Regions from separate parts of the Homo sapiens genome. Here region 1 is linked to region 2. The links are contacts of gene promoters, found by promoter capture Hi-C in blood cells and fetal thymus (Javierre and others, 2016). All regions are on one chromosome and are shown on one strand. Each heading gives the region's core, a stretch centred on a gene start or on the middle of the fragment in contact. The rest is flanking DNA. Distances are from core to core; before and after follow the strand shown. Region 1 overlaps LOC105374329 (a long non-coding RNA gene). Region 2 holds the start of ADCY3 (adenylate cyclase 3).

Region 1 (6,830 bases), core at 135-2,634, 490 kb after region 2:
CATTTGCAAAATGCTGGGGGTCCAGTGATCCACTTAGATGTCTGTTCTGAGTCTGGACTTCAAAAATCAAACATTGTAAACTTGGAACAGTTAGGGCCAGGCACAGTGGCTCACGCCTATAATCCTAGCACTTTGGGAAGCCAAGGTGGGTGGATCACCTGAGGTCAGGAGTTCGAGACCAGCCTGGCCAACGTGGCGAAACCCTGTCTCTACTAAAAATACAACAATTAGCTAGACGCACGTCCTGTTGGCGCGTGCCTGTAATCCCACCTACTCAGGAGGCTGAGGCAGGAGAATTACTTGAACCCGGAAGGTGGAGGTTGTAGTGAGCTAATATTGCGCCATTGCATTGCAGCCTGGGCAACAAGAGCGAAACTCCATCTCAAAAAAAAAAAAAAAAGAAAGAAAGAAAGAAAAAGAAAAGAAAAGAAAAAACTTGGAACAGTTAATTAAAACAAAACAAAACAATATGTGATGTTTTTAAAGGAATGTAACAGCATGTTAAAATAGGGCTTTTCCTTTCTCAGAGTTTTGGCTGAGGCTTCAAAACTGAGAACAATAGGTTTCAGTCCCTCCTCCACATCCTAAGTGAGGTACAAGACTGTCCAGGCAGGACTTGCAAAGAGAGTGGCCTTGTGCCAGTTCTGCCATGGTTAGACCTTCACCCATCTCCAGGCTTCCTAAGAGAAGGGACAGAGAGGCTGCGTTCTGATATCAGTGGAAAAAGTTCTTGAGTGGAAGGCTGGTGGGTGGCAGTAGAGCAAAGCCAGGGGACCCAGAAGGAACAAGCCACACTTGCAGAAACAGTGGGGAAGTTTGTGCCAGGGGGACATGAGGAAGAAAGCTGGACTTGAGTCATCTTACAGACCCTATCTAAGAGGACCTTCTGGATGATTCCAACATAAGAAACACTATGCGGGATGGTCAACTGGAATTCAAGTCATAAAGGGGAGAATGGAAGAGCCTAGCTAAAATGGGCACTGTCCAAGTCAAGGGAATGCTTAGTAGGAGGGCCAAAGGAGGAAGGGTCTCTAAACAAATTCTCAAAAGCACCTCACTAGAGAAATACCCGTTAGATCTGCTACTTACCAAGGGTGCTGTGATTACAACTCAAGAGCCACTGAAGGCCTCTGTTTATTTAATCCCCTCTCTCCTGGGCCCAGCTAATGCAAGAGGAGGAGAAACAAAGAGAAGACAATGACTGGAACCCCCTTCTTCCCTATATGCTTGCAAGCCTAAGTTTGCTCACACTAGTGACAGGGAGAACTTTAATTTGGATAAGAAATTAAAATTTTGATATTTGATTGGACTGAACTTTTCAATACCTGATGATAAACGGAAAACCATGGGTAGGGGCTGGGTGCCATGTCTCACGCCTGTAATCCCAGCACTTTGGGAGGCCGAGGTGGGCAGATCACTTGGGCCGTGGAGTTGGAGACCAGCCTGAGTAAAATGAGGAAACCCTGTCTTTACAAAAAAATACAAAAATTAGCTGGGTGTGGTGGTGCATGCCTGTGGTCCCAGCTACTTGGGAGGTTGAGGTGAGAGGCTCAGCAGAGCCTAGGAGGTCAAAGCTACAGTGAGTCATGATTGCACCACTGCACTCCAGCCTGCATGACAGAGCGAGACCCTGTCTCAAAAGAAAAAAGAGACAACCATGGATGGGTAGGGAAGAAAGATTTGAGAGAGTAGGGACATTCTTTCTCAATCCATTTTGTGCTACTCTAACAGAGCATCTGAAACAATAATTACTAAAGAGCAGAGATTTATTTCTTACAGTTCTGGAGGCTACTAAGTCCAAGGGGCCCACATTGATCAGATAACCTTCTTCTTTCTTTCTTTTTTTGAGACAGAGTCTCACTCTGCCACCCAGGCTGGAGTGCAGTGGCGCAATCTGCAATTCTCCAGGCTCAGTCGAGTAGCTGGACTTACAGGCCCCTGCTACCACACCCGGCTAATTTTTGTATTTTTTAGTAGAGATGGGGTTTCACCATATTGGTCAGGCTGATCTTGAACTCCTGACCTTGTGATCCACCCAACTCAGCCTCCCAAAGTGCTGGGATTACAGGCATGAGCCATCACACCCAGTCTCTTGCTTTTTTTTTTTTTTTTTTTTGAGACTGGGTCTTGCTCTGTTGCCCAGGCTGGAGTGCAGTGGTGCAATAATGGCTCACTGTGGCCTGGACCTCCGGGGCTCAAGCAATTCTTCCACCTCAGCCTCCACAGTAGCTCGGACTACAAGCACATGCCACCACACTCAGCTAATTTTTTTATTTTTTGTAGAGATGAGGTCTCACTATTGTTGCCCAAGCTGCTCTCAAACTCCTGGGCTAAGAGATCCTCCCACCTCATCCTCCCAAAGTGCTGGGATTACAGGTGTGAACCAACACATCCAGCCTACCAGGGACCTTCTTGCCGCATCATCCCATGGCAAAAGGTGGAAGGGCAAGACAGCATGGACCCATGCATGCACATGAAAGAGAGGAAGAGAGGGAAGGAGAGAGAGAGGAGAGGGGAGAAGGAGGCAATGAGGGGAGGGGAGAGGGCTGAAATCATCCCTTTATCAGGAACCAACTCTGGCAGTAACAAACCCACTCCCTCAGTAATGACCTTAAACCATCAGTGAAAACAGAGCCCTCATGACCTAATCACGGCTTAAAGATCCCACCTCTCAACACCATTGCATTGGGGATTAAATTTCCAACATATGAATTTCGGGGGACACATTCAAACCACAGCATAGTTATAAGATAGGACAAGTGCTTTCTGTTTGAGCCATCCCAAATCCATCTTGTTTAATATACTGGTTACAGGGGAATAACTTTGGGGAGTTGGGGAAGGATTGATTGCAAACGGGAGAGACTAGCATCTATTGTCTAGATATTAGACAAGGAGGCACTGTGGGCTGAGGCTATTCCTGAGGTAAACCTGGCAGGACTTAATGACTGCTTAGATGTGGAAGGGAAGAACGGTGGATGACTCATGACAGCTTCTAAAGTTTCTAGCCTGAGAGTCTGAAAGATGGCGACTTGATGGATAGCAATGCCACATTCTACGGCTGAAAATGTGTTCTATAGAGACCACACACTTAGGTCAACGATGCTGCGTTTTTGGAACTCTTCAACTGAGTTTCTTCGGAGCCAATGGCTTCTGAGCCAATTCATGAGTCATATAAAAGAATCAATCTCATTACTTTTCATTTCTTCAGTTTTTCATTTAGTCCATCACTTAGCAAGCTTTCGTTAAGTGTTCCCTATGCATTATGATGCACTGTGTTAGTCACTGCAGAGAAAAATCAGCAGGACACGGGGTCAGTCCTCAAGAAGTTCAGCCTACTCCAGTTAAAGATTGGGGTAACCATGGTTTTTGTGGCCTTATCCCCCTTTAACTCCTTTATGTCACTGTTCTTCACGTAAAAAAGAGCAGAGTATCATGTACATTGGGTATAGACCATCTTAAGTCCATGACCTTATCACGTTTTGTCTGAGTTATTTTAGGTCCTGCAGAACTTAGGTTGTTATGACAACATGGCCCAGAAACTTGATCTCTGTCCAAATTTGTACTTTCTAAATGTAAGCAGACCCTCAAAATCAGTCTAAAAATCACTGGCACAAAATGTACCCACACAGGCCCATACAAATGTGTTTTCTCTGCTTGTCTGTCTCTCACTATACCTGTAATGCGCGCACACACACACACACTTACGCAAACACACTTATTCATACCAATCAGATTCCGTTCAATCTGATAACAATATATATCTAATATTCAGAATATCAAAGTTTTATGCTAAATCCTCTAGGGAATATGAAAAATTTAAAACATAGTTCTTTCTTTCCAGAGGCCCATAGCTTAGTAGGAAAAACAGATACTTTATAAATAGGGATATGTATGCCGGGCGCCGTGGCTCACACCTGTAATCCCAGCACTTTGGGAGGCCGAGGCAGGCAGATCATGAGGTCAGGAGATTTGAGACCATCCTGGCTAACACGGTGAAAGCCAGTCTCTACTAAAAATACAAAAAATTAGCTGGGCATGGCAGCACGCACTTGTACTTGGGAGGCTGAGGCAGGAGAATCGCTTGAACCCGGGAGGAGGAGGCTGCAGTGGGCCAAGATCGTGCCACTGTACTCCAGCCTGGGTGACAGAGTGAGACTCTGTCTCAAAAAATAAATAAATAAATAAATAAATAAATAAATAAATAAATAAATAGGGATATGTGACGCAAAGTTAGCAATGAAGTGATGTAATAAAAGAATAAGCCAATTAACAAAGGAGAAAATCTACAATAACCTCTTATACTTAAGTTGCTTATTTTTTGGACCTCAGGGGCAGAGATCTGAGTTCCTCATACTCCAGTGTGCTCAACAAACATTCTCATAGCACCTATCATGTAGCAGGCACCTTTCTTGGCCATGAGAATATGTGTTTTTTTTTTTAAGAGGCGGAGTTTCATTCTGTTGCCTAGGTTGGAGTGCAATGGCATGATCTCGGCTCACTGCAACCTCAAGTGATTCTCCTGCCTCAGCCTCCTGAGTAGCTGGGATTACAGGTGCGTGCCACCATGCCCAGATAATTTTGTAGTTCTTTTAGTGGAGACAGGGTCTCACCAAGTTGGCAAGCTGGTCTCCAACTCCTCGTCTCAAGTCATCCGCATGCCTCGGCCTCCCAAAGTGCTGGGATTACAGGCGTGAGCCACTGAGCCCCGTGAGAATATGTGACTTTTATTTAAATTGGGGGTACAGTCATTAAACAAGCAAATATCTGATAGTGGTGACAGTGGAAAAATTAAAAGCAGGATGGTGAGATAGCAAGTCCTTAGATGGTTCTTTGGTTTGGGTGGTCAGAGAAAGCTTCTCTAAGGATGTGACATTTAAGTAAGACCTGTGCAACAGAAAGGAGCCCACCTTGAGAAGGAAGACCAGAAGGATGAGCATCTCAGACAAATGGAACAGCTACCCCCAGCAAGAATGCATTGTGCACACTGGAGAAACTAAAAGAAGCCAGGAGTGCCTGGAACACTGTGGGCAAAATGGGGAGAAGAGGATGAGATGAGATTGCCTAGGTGGGCAGTGATCAGGTAATGTAAGACTAGATTTGAAAATAATACAAAGTTTGAGGCTGGGCGTGGTGGCTCACGCCTGTAATCCCAGCACTTTGGGAGGCCAAGGCGGGCGGACCACAAAGTCAGGAGATCAAGACCATCCTGGCTAACACGGTGAAACCCCGTCTCTACTAAAAATACAAAAAATTAGCCAGGCGTGGTGGTGGGTGCCTGTAGTTCCAGCTACTTGGGAGGCTGACACAGGAGAATGGTGTGAACCTGGGAGGCGGAGCTTACAGTGAGCCGAGATGGCGCCACTGCACTCCAGCCTGGGTGACAGAGACTGTCTCAAAAAAAAGAAAATAATATAAAGTTTGATTGGTCTTTAAGCACATTGTACACACACACACATGCACACACAATGTGAATGTGCATGCACACACACAGACACACACACACACAGTTCCAAAAATGTTTCAAGCTTTGGCAGAACTGCTGGAAACTATGACTGCTTTGAAAGAAATAACATTCATTTGGAAGAAGCTTAAAAACTCATTACTTCATATCCACATCTAATACTTAATTTGACTAGGAAAATCTAAAGAACAAAAGGATATTTGCAAACTGTACATGAGCTCTAAGTTTTATCGATGGTATCACTTAACAGAGTGTAGGAAAAGCCATGGCCAGGGACTCCCAGAGAACAGTTTAAAAACAAGAAACTCCGTGATAGCAAGCAGAAGGGGTGAAGCAATTCCCACTCTGAGGGGGTGAGGAAGGACAGTTTTTGCTGTGCTTCTGGTTAGGCCAGAGGTGTTTGCTTGCCACATTCTTGTCATTGGTTCTGGACAAGGGGCCCCTCTCGTATTTTATATTGCCATTTCCTCAATCTTCACTTCCATAGGCATCCTCTCTAGTATGTTTGGAATATGTCCTCAGAGAGAGTTATTTATCTTTGATAGATACGTGGGTTGTTCCATGAATGTGATTTTAACTAGCCAACATGATATTGTTCTATCTCTCATTTATTCACACCGTACTATGAATTGTAGTTCATCCATGTTGCTCCGTATATCTAATTCATCACTTCTAATTGCTACAGAGTGTTTTGTGATAAGGACCCTTCATATTTTAGTTATTCATTTCCCTAGAGATGGATACTAGCTTGATGCGCACTTTTTTTTTTTTTCTTTTTTTTTGGAGACGGAGTCTTGCTCTGTTGCCTAGGCTGGAGTGCAGTGGGTACAATCTCGGCTCACTACAACCTCTGCCTCCCAGGTTCAAGTGATTCTCCTGCCTCAGCCTCCCAAGTAGCTGGGACTACAGGTGTGCACCACGACGCCCAGCTAATTTTTGTATTTTTAGTAGAGACGGGGTTTCATCATGTTAGCCAGGCTGGTCTCGAACTCCTGGCCTCAAGTGGTTCACCCACCTCAGCCTCCCAGAGTGCTGGGATTACATGCAATGAACATCCTCATAAAGGTGAACTTTTGGGCCTGAGGTGAGCTTCTCTTGGGGGCTGCAGGGCCAAAAAGGCTCCTGTCACTCAGCTTCTCTGGGGAAGGTTGGATTGCTGTCCTGAATGAATGCACTAGTCCGTGTGCCCATTATATTTTCACAATTGATTTCTACAGAATACACTGAGTCTTGGGGACATTTGGTGGCATATTCAAGGTCAAACATGTACAAGTCTCAGAATCAAGATCCAAGTCTTCCCCTTCAGTCTACAGCTTTTTCCATTGGGAAAATGCCTTTCTGAGGAAGCTGACACTTACCTACATGATGT
Region 2 (7,227 bases), core at 408-2,907:
ATAAATAAATAAATGCCTTCCTTTTTAAAAAACAAAAACAAAAAACAAACCACAAATAACTCCCTCCAAAAAAAATCCCCCCCAAAACCCAAAAACCTCCAGCAAATTAAAACAATGGGGCAGCCCAGAGCAGTGGCTCATCCCTGTAATCCCAGCACTTTGGGAGGCTGAGGTGGGCGGATCACTTGAGGTCAGGAGTTCAAGACCAGCCTAGCCAACATAGTGAAACCCCATCTACTAAAAATACAAAAATTACCCCGGGCTTGGTGGTGTGTGCCTGCAATCCCAGGTATTCAGGAGGCTGAGGCAGGAGAATTGCGTGAACCTGGGTGGTGGAGGTTGCAGTGAGCTGAGATCACAACACTGCACTCCAGCCTGGGTGACAGAGTGAGACTCAGTCTCGAAAAAATAAAAAATAGAAATAAAATAAAACAATGGGGCAAAGTTTTGCTTTATTTAAATTACCAAACTCCTATATCTGATGTTAGGTCCCCTACCTTTGGAATCAAAGCCCTGCGAAGTATGGGCTGAAGGTGGCGCCTTTTCAGACAGAGTGTGAGGGAACGGTAGAAACAGCAGTGGCAGGATCGATTCTCTAATGGATCCATTCCCCGAGGGATGCAAGGTGATGCCTGAGGTTCTGGAAGGGGTGCCCGCGGATAACTCTCAGGGGCATGGGGTGGCAGCTCCATCCAGGGTCTGGATAGCCAAGTTTCTCTCCCCTCTGTTCATTCCTTCAGCTCTCCCCAGGGGAGATGACCCCCTATTGCTGCTGGCTGTCCTCAGCACTTACCTTCCCACACATGCTTTTGTCCCTTTTGTCCCAAAACATTCTATCTCTTTCCTCTTCCTTTATTTAAATTCCCAAAGCCTGTAGTTGATCTTAGCACGGTGTTCTGTCAAATGCAAGGAAAATAATTTATACTATGGTGTAAGAGACTGATAGGTTTAACTATTCAAAGGAGCATTCGCATCTTTAAGGGACAGTTTGTGAACTCAAACACATCTCAAACGGGTAGAATGTGCACGGGAAATCTCTTCGAAGCAGGGTCTCAGGAACTCTTCCAGTTCCACGTGTGTAGTGCCCACCGGGCCACCGCCACCCGCCTCCTGGGAGCAGGACAGGGCTCCGCTGCCGAGCCCCTCTGCGGAAAGCTCAGGCCCGGCGCTCCGGAGTCTGGGCTCCCGGGGTGGGCGGGGATACTTAGGCCCCACGTGCCCCGCGGCGGAGCGGTCCCCAAACCTGAGCCCTGGCCTCTGCCGGCCCGGAAGGAAGCCGCGGCGGAGGAGGGGGCGGCGGGGTGCCCCGAGCGCGCCTCACCTGCGGGCGGGCGCGTCCCGGGCTTCCATCCTCCTAGACCGGGCCTCCTCGCTGGAAGGGGTGGATTCGCCCCAGCCCTGCCGCCCACCGCCCACCGCCCACGCCCGCGCCCGCGCCCGCGCTTCCACGCAGCCATCGCCCCAGCCCGCCGCCCGCGCCGGATCGGGGGCCGCCCGGGCCCCTCCACCTCTCGCCCGCGCGGGTCCTGGGACCGCCGCCCGGCGCCTCCCTCGCCGCCCCACTCCGGAACGCGCCGCCGAGAGGGCGGAGACTGGGGCGAGGGAGGGGCCGCCCCGCCCGCCTCCCGCCTCCCGCCTCCCGCCTCCCGGGGCCTGGAGCGCGCGTGGCCCCGGAGCCGCCGGCGCCGCGCGGGGAATAGCTGTGCAGCACGCCGAGCCCGGACTCGGCTGGCTCGGCTCGGCGCGGGCGGGCGAGAGGATGCTGGCGGGCTTCCCCGGGCTCGGCCCGCGCTCCCGCCGGGGAGGGCCCCGCGCGCGCCCCTAGCAGCCGCCGCCGCCGCGGGTGCAGGGGAGGGGTCCGGAGAGCCGCGCTCGCCGCCGCCCGCGCCTGCCGGCCCCCGCACGGCCCCTGCCCCTGAGCCTCAGCCCCAGGGCGGGCGCGCTGGGCCGGCGCCCACGGATCTCCCAGCCCTCGTCGCCGCCTCCTCCTTCCCCCTGCGGCCGGGCGCCCGCGGATGCTGAGGGGCAGCCCTGCGCCTCTCCCGGTCGGATCCCGGGCCTGACGGCGGGAGATCGCGCTCCGGCCGGGCCCCGAGGCGCTGCCGGGGCGGCGCGGCTCTGCGGGGAGCAGCCCTCGGGCGCGCCGAGCTCTCCCGCCCCAGCCCGCGCGGGGACCGTCCCGGAGCACGCGGTGGCCGAGTTCCCGCACAGGTAAACGCAGGGGCAGGGCCAGGCTTCCGGGGGGGAAGACAGCGCCCCGAGCGTGGGAAGGGGGCCGGATCGGAGCCCGAGCCTCCAAGGGTTTGGTGGAAAAAGGAAGTAAACAGAAGGAAGGCTCAGGAATCCCCCACGATGGTCCTGATTTCTTTCCGGCACATTTTATTTACAGCTTCTAAGGACTGGGCCTGGAGGGAATTTAGGTGAGGAAGTCGGGGACTGAGAAAGAAGAGATGACAGAGAGAAACCGGTTACCAGGGATGGAAAGGCGGCTAGGCCCTTCCACAAGCCAGGGACAGGAAATTGAGTGTCTGGCGTGGACAGGACTAAGTGTGCCTGCGGTGGGCGGTGGTGTGAGCCGGGGGTGGCAGGGAAGGCCCTGGGTTGGGAGGCTCTTGCAGCAGAGATCCTTTTATGAGGGTTAGGGCGGGTCATGGGGAAACCGCAAGGTAGGAGGGAAGAGGTGCTTCTACTCAGCAATGCCCTTTTCAGTTCTAGCTGATCAGTGCTACCTGTGCTCTGGAAACCCGCTCTGCGTTCCTGCTGGAGGTGGCCTCCCCTCCGCCCCAGACAAGAAGAGGCCCTCAGCCCTCCCCCGGTCTCAGAGAGCCCTGAGAGGAGGCCCAGTCCAGAGCTCTTCCTCCGTTCCCAGTCCACTTCTCTAGGGCCAGTAGCAGACACCAGCCAGTATGCCGAGGAACCAGGGCTTCTCCGAGCCCGAATACTCGGCCGAGTACTCAGCCGAGTACTCCGTCAGCCTGCCCTCCGACCCTGACCGCGGGGTGGGCCGGACCCATGAAATCTCGGTCCGGAACTCGGGCTCCTGCCTGTGCCTGCCTCGCTTCATGCGGCTGACTTTCGTGCCGGAGTCCTTGGAGAACCTCTACCAGACCTACTTCAAAAGGCAGCGCCACGAGACCCTGCTGGTGCTGGTGGTCTTTGCAGCCCTCTTTGACTGCTACGTGGTGGTCATGTGTGCTGTGGTCTTCTCCAGCGACAAGCTGGCTTCCCTCGCCGTGGCTGGAATTGGACTGGTGTTGGACATCATCCTCTTCGTGCTCTGCAAAAAGGGGCTGCTCCCGGACCGGGTCACCCGCAGAGTGCTGCCCTACGTGCTGTGGCTGCTCATAACCGCCCAGATCTTCTCCTACCTGGGCCTGAACTTCGCGCGTGCCCACGCGGCTAGTGACACGGTGGGCTGGCAGGTCTTCTTTGTCTTCTCCTTCTTCATCACGCTGCCCCTCAGCCTCAGCCCCATCGTGATCATCTCCGTGGTCTCCTGTGTGGTGCACACGTTGGTCCTGGGGGTCACCGTGGCCCAGCAGCAGCAGGAGGAGCTCAAGGGGATGCAGCTGCTGCGGGAGGTGAGTCCTGCCCACTGTCCCCCCACAGCGTCCTCTCCTGCAGCTCTCACCAACTTGGGACCTGTTGGAGTTGCTGTTTGCTTTGCCTTTGAGTCAAAATGTGTCCTGGGGGCCTCCGGGGCTCTCACCTCTCTCCCTAGTCCCTGCCTTTTCACCCCTGTGCCATTACCCGGAGTCTGCCTGTGCTTGGCCCCAGGGAAAGGAGGATGTCAGGGCATTGGGCCTCAGGGCCACTCTTCACCTGTGCCCAGTCTAAGTGTGTGACAGGAAGGCCCACCCAGGGCTGGTCTTGAGGCAGCATTGTCCTGGCCATTCCCTGTCAGTGACCCTGGCAAGGAGGACCTCCCTTGGGAAGAGGGCTCCTTGATTCCCATCTCTCCCCAGCACTGACTAGCTGTGTGGACTCAGTGCCCCTTTGTCAAATGGGGATAACGTCCGCTCTGCCTGCATGACACGGTTGTTGTCAGGATTGCAGGAGATGTGGGGGAAAGCGCATTAGGATACGTGAAGGGCTGCACAGAGGGAAGACGCAGTTGTCATATTTCCTGCCTCCGGGAGCTCGGGGTGCCTGGGGAGTTCTATGAAGTGGAGAATGGTGGTCTCCCCACTGAAGGTGTGGTGTGGGGATGCAAATGGGGACAGTCATGCCGGCCACTGTGACGTAGGGTCTCCTGGTCCTAAAGCACGCATTCTGCTGGTCCTGGAGCACGCTTTCTACTGGAAGGGGTGGAATTTCGGCCTCAGCTTAACTATTATAGTATTGTGTTCCCACCAAGTGCCAGGCCCTCAGGGGCTGCAGAGACCAGGGGACCTGAGGGACAGTAGGCAGTGTGTGTCCCTGGGGAGCCAGCAAGCCGGTGACCAGAGAATGAGGCGGAGATGTCTGCATCTGGGTTTGGTGCCCAGCCTGCCAGCCTCGTGCCAATGATGGTCAAGAGAGGCTCCCCCACTTCCTGCCCCTGCAGTGCTCTGTCTGGTAGAGATGTCTTAACTCCCACGCCAGCTCTGTTCTGTGGTTAGTGGGGCTGGGGTAGAGTCAGCTCTGAAGCGGTGACCTTCTGGGTGTCAGGAGAGGCAGGGCGTGCCCAGAATCCTTGCTGACTGACGTGAGCCTCTAGCAGCCATGGAGGTCAGTGCCTGGGTCCTGGAGACCAGGTGCTATGTGCAGGCCCAGGGTGGACAGACAGAATCTTCCACTCCTCTGCTGATTTCTCCACTCATGTCTCATCCTGCTGATTTGTTCTAGAAATGGGTAGAGGATGTTAACATAGGCAGGGCCTGGCAGGGCATCTAGCCCAGACTACCCATTTTACAGAGGAGGAAACAGAGATGAGTGATAACTGGTTCACTGTCACCCAGCACTTTGGTGGCAGAAACAGGACGGGAGCCCAGGCATTGACCCCCAGCCCAGGGCTCATTTGTGTATGTTCCTTGGAGCACTGAGAGCTGCCTGAGAGCAGGAGCTTTGCTTCCCACCCCACCTCCTGGAGACAGTGGCTATGTGCTGCCCTGCCGTCCCCACCCCAAATCTCTGTAGAGGGGGCTGTGAGTTTCTGGTCATTGACTAGGTGGAAACACCAGTCATATCTCTTCAGGCCATGCATTAGCCAGTCCCAGGTTCTTTTTTTTTTTGAGACGGAGTCTTGCTTTGTTGCCAGGCTGGAGTGCAATGGCGCGATCTCAGCTCACTGCAACCTCCGCCTCCCAGGTTCAAGCTATTCTTCTGCCTTAGCCTCCTGAGTAGCTGCGATGACAGGCACGCGCCTCCACGCCTGGCTAATTTTTGTATTTTTAGTAGAGACAAGGTTTCACCATGTTGGCCAGGATAGTCTCGATCTCTTGACCTCATAATCCGCCCGCCTCGGCCTCCCAAAGTGCTGGGATTACAGGCGTGAGCCACCATGCCCAGGCATCCCAGGTTCTAAGGTCTGAGGTCTGAGGATGACTGGTCTCTCTAGCTCCATCTCCTCAGGTGGACAAGGAGCTTATTTTGAGGCTCCTGGAGCTTCCAGGGAAAAGGACTGAGAAGGTATGGCCACAGGGCTGGGCCGGGGCCTGGGTGCCCCACCACGTGGCTACTCGGAGATCACTTCTAAACTCATGATTGTTCTCCTTTGAGTATTGCTAAGACATAAAACCCTAAAACTTAGAAAACAGAAAAAAAAAGATAGAAATCAAGAATAAAAATATTAGCATCCCAGGGGAGCCTGACCTTGGCATGCAAGCAGTGCCTGGGAGGCAGCTTTGGGAACAGAGCAGGAGGGGCAGAGAGCTCTCAAGGTCCGATTGGGAGCCTGAGATCGAAGGCAGGAGGCCCCAGCTTACAGTGGGCTGTGTTCCAGAAGCTTCTGAGTCACTGGTTTGGGACTAATGTGACTTTTTAAAAGGTGCCTGGGTTCCCAGGCCCACCCACCAGGGTCTTCCTCAACTCACAGCATCCCGGCATTTGGCCTCTGAAGATGGTGGAAATGGGGCCGGGCATGGTGGCTCATGCCTGTAATCCCAGAACTTTGGCAGGCTGAGGCGGGCGGATCACCTGAGGTCAGGAGTTCAAGACCAGCCTGGCCAACATGGCGAAACCGCATCTCTACTAAAAATACAAAAATTAGCCAGGTGTGATGGGGCGTGCTTATAATCCCAGCTACACAGGAGACTGAGGCAGGAGAATCACTTGAACCTAGGAGGCAGAGATTGTAGTGAGCCGAGATCGCACCACTGCACTCCAGCCTGGGCGACAGAGTGAGACTCCATCAAACAAAAACAAAAACAACAAAAAACACAAGCTGCAGCAGCCTGTGTTGCTGTGGGGAGGGACACCCGGGACAGCGGTCTCCCCTGAGCCCTGGAGTGAGGTGTCATTCATCTCCCCTGCTGCCGTTGCCTCCTGGGATGTGGGCCCCATCAAGGATCGGGGGCAAGGGCTGGAGGACAGGATGCAAGAACCAGGGGACCAGGCCCCTTCTGGTCAGGGTAGGTCCCAGAACTTTCTCCAGACCCCAGGCACCGCCTTTCTCCTACCCATGTGCTTGCCCTTGTCTTTCTCTCTCCCATCCCCTGTCGGCTCTGGCTGGGGACTCCCTCCAGGGTCAGTGGGGGATGAACGCAGTTTCCCAGTTCGAAATAGACACCTGGATTTCTGGGTTCTTGTGAGTTTTGTGGTTTTGTTGCTGCTGTCACTGGCAGCATGAAGAAGCATTGCCAGTGTCAAAAGTCTTCTTCCTCTGCAGCCCTTATCCCCCCATGCCCATGCGCAGCTCTGTGGGGAAGGACAGAAGGTACACATGGGGCTGTTGGCAGCCTGAGAGGTCAGAGGCCAGCCAGACAACCTGTCCTGGGCTCCTCGCAGGAGGCCAGTGGGTGGGGTTCTGACAGGAAGAGCAGGTGATCAGGGAGTGTGGGATGGGGTGGGGCTGGGGCCCCACCAATGAGTTAATGAGTGAATATTGCCGAGCAGCATGGGCCTTGCAGCCTGCAAGGTCAGGGGATAAGGAGGATGAGGCCATCTGACACTCAGGCTGTGCTGGGGCGGGGAGGATGTTCTGAGAGCCACCTTGGGTGGGCAGAGACCTAGCCAATGGTTCTCACGACCCATCCTCTAGCCCCTGCCTGTCCCCCATTCCTTTTTTTTTTTTTTTTTGAGACAGAG

What was found. The method cuts DNA at HindIII sites, captures the fragments that hold promoters and counts their contacts. A CHiCAGO score of 5 or more calls a contact.
Region 1: a contact is called between a fragment that was not itself captured here and the fragment with the promoter of ADCY3 in region 2, in 1 of 17 cell types (endothelial precursors). The highest score is 5.5, in endothelial precursors.

Annotation. Positions count from the first base shown.
Region 1 is chr2:24,426,089-24,432,918 of GRCh38, reverse strand. The region is part of intron 2 of LOC105374329 (a long non-coding RNA gene); the gene reads right to left. Among named protein-coding and RNA genes, the nearest start is that of NCOA1, 62 kb to the left of the region's middle. The HindIII fragment of the contact is 3,708 bases long and covers 1-3,238 here.
Region 2 is chr2:24,914,667-24,921,893 of GRCh38, reverse strand. ADCY3 (adenylate cyclase 3) reads left to right here and starts at 1,657. Exons shown (of 22, transcript NM_004036.5): 1 at 1,657-2,211; 2 at 2,710-3,581. The coding sequence starts at 2,907. It overlaps LOC124907742 (a long non-coding RNA gene), which reads right to left and starts at 1,550. Exons shown (of 2, transcript XR_007086246.1): 1 at 1,322-1,550; 2 at 436-896. RefSeq lists silencers at 1,103-1,192, 1,203-1,412, 1,453-1,512, 1,543-2,272 and an enhancer at 4,675-4,924. The HindIII fragment of the contact is 7,828 bases long and covers 1-5,928 here.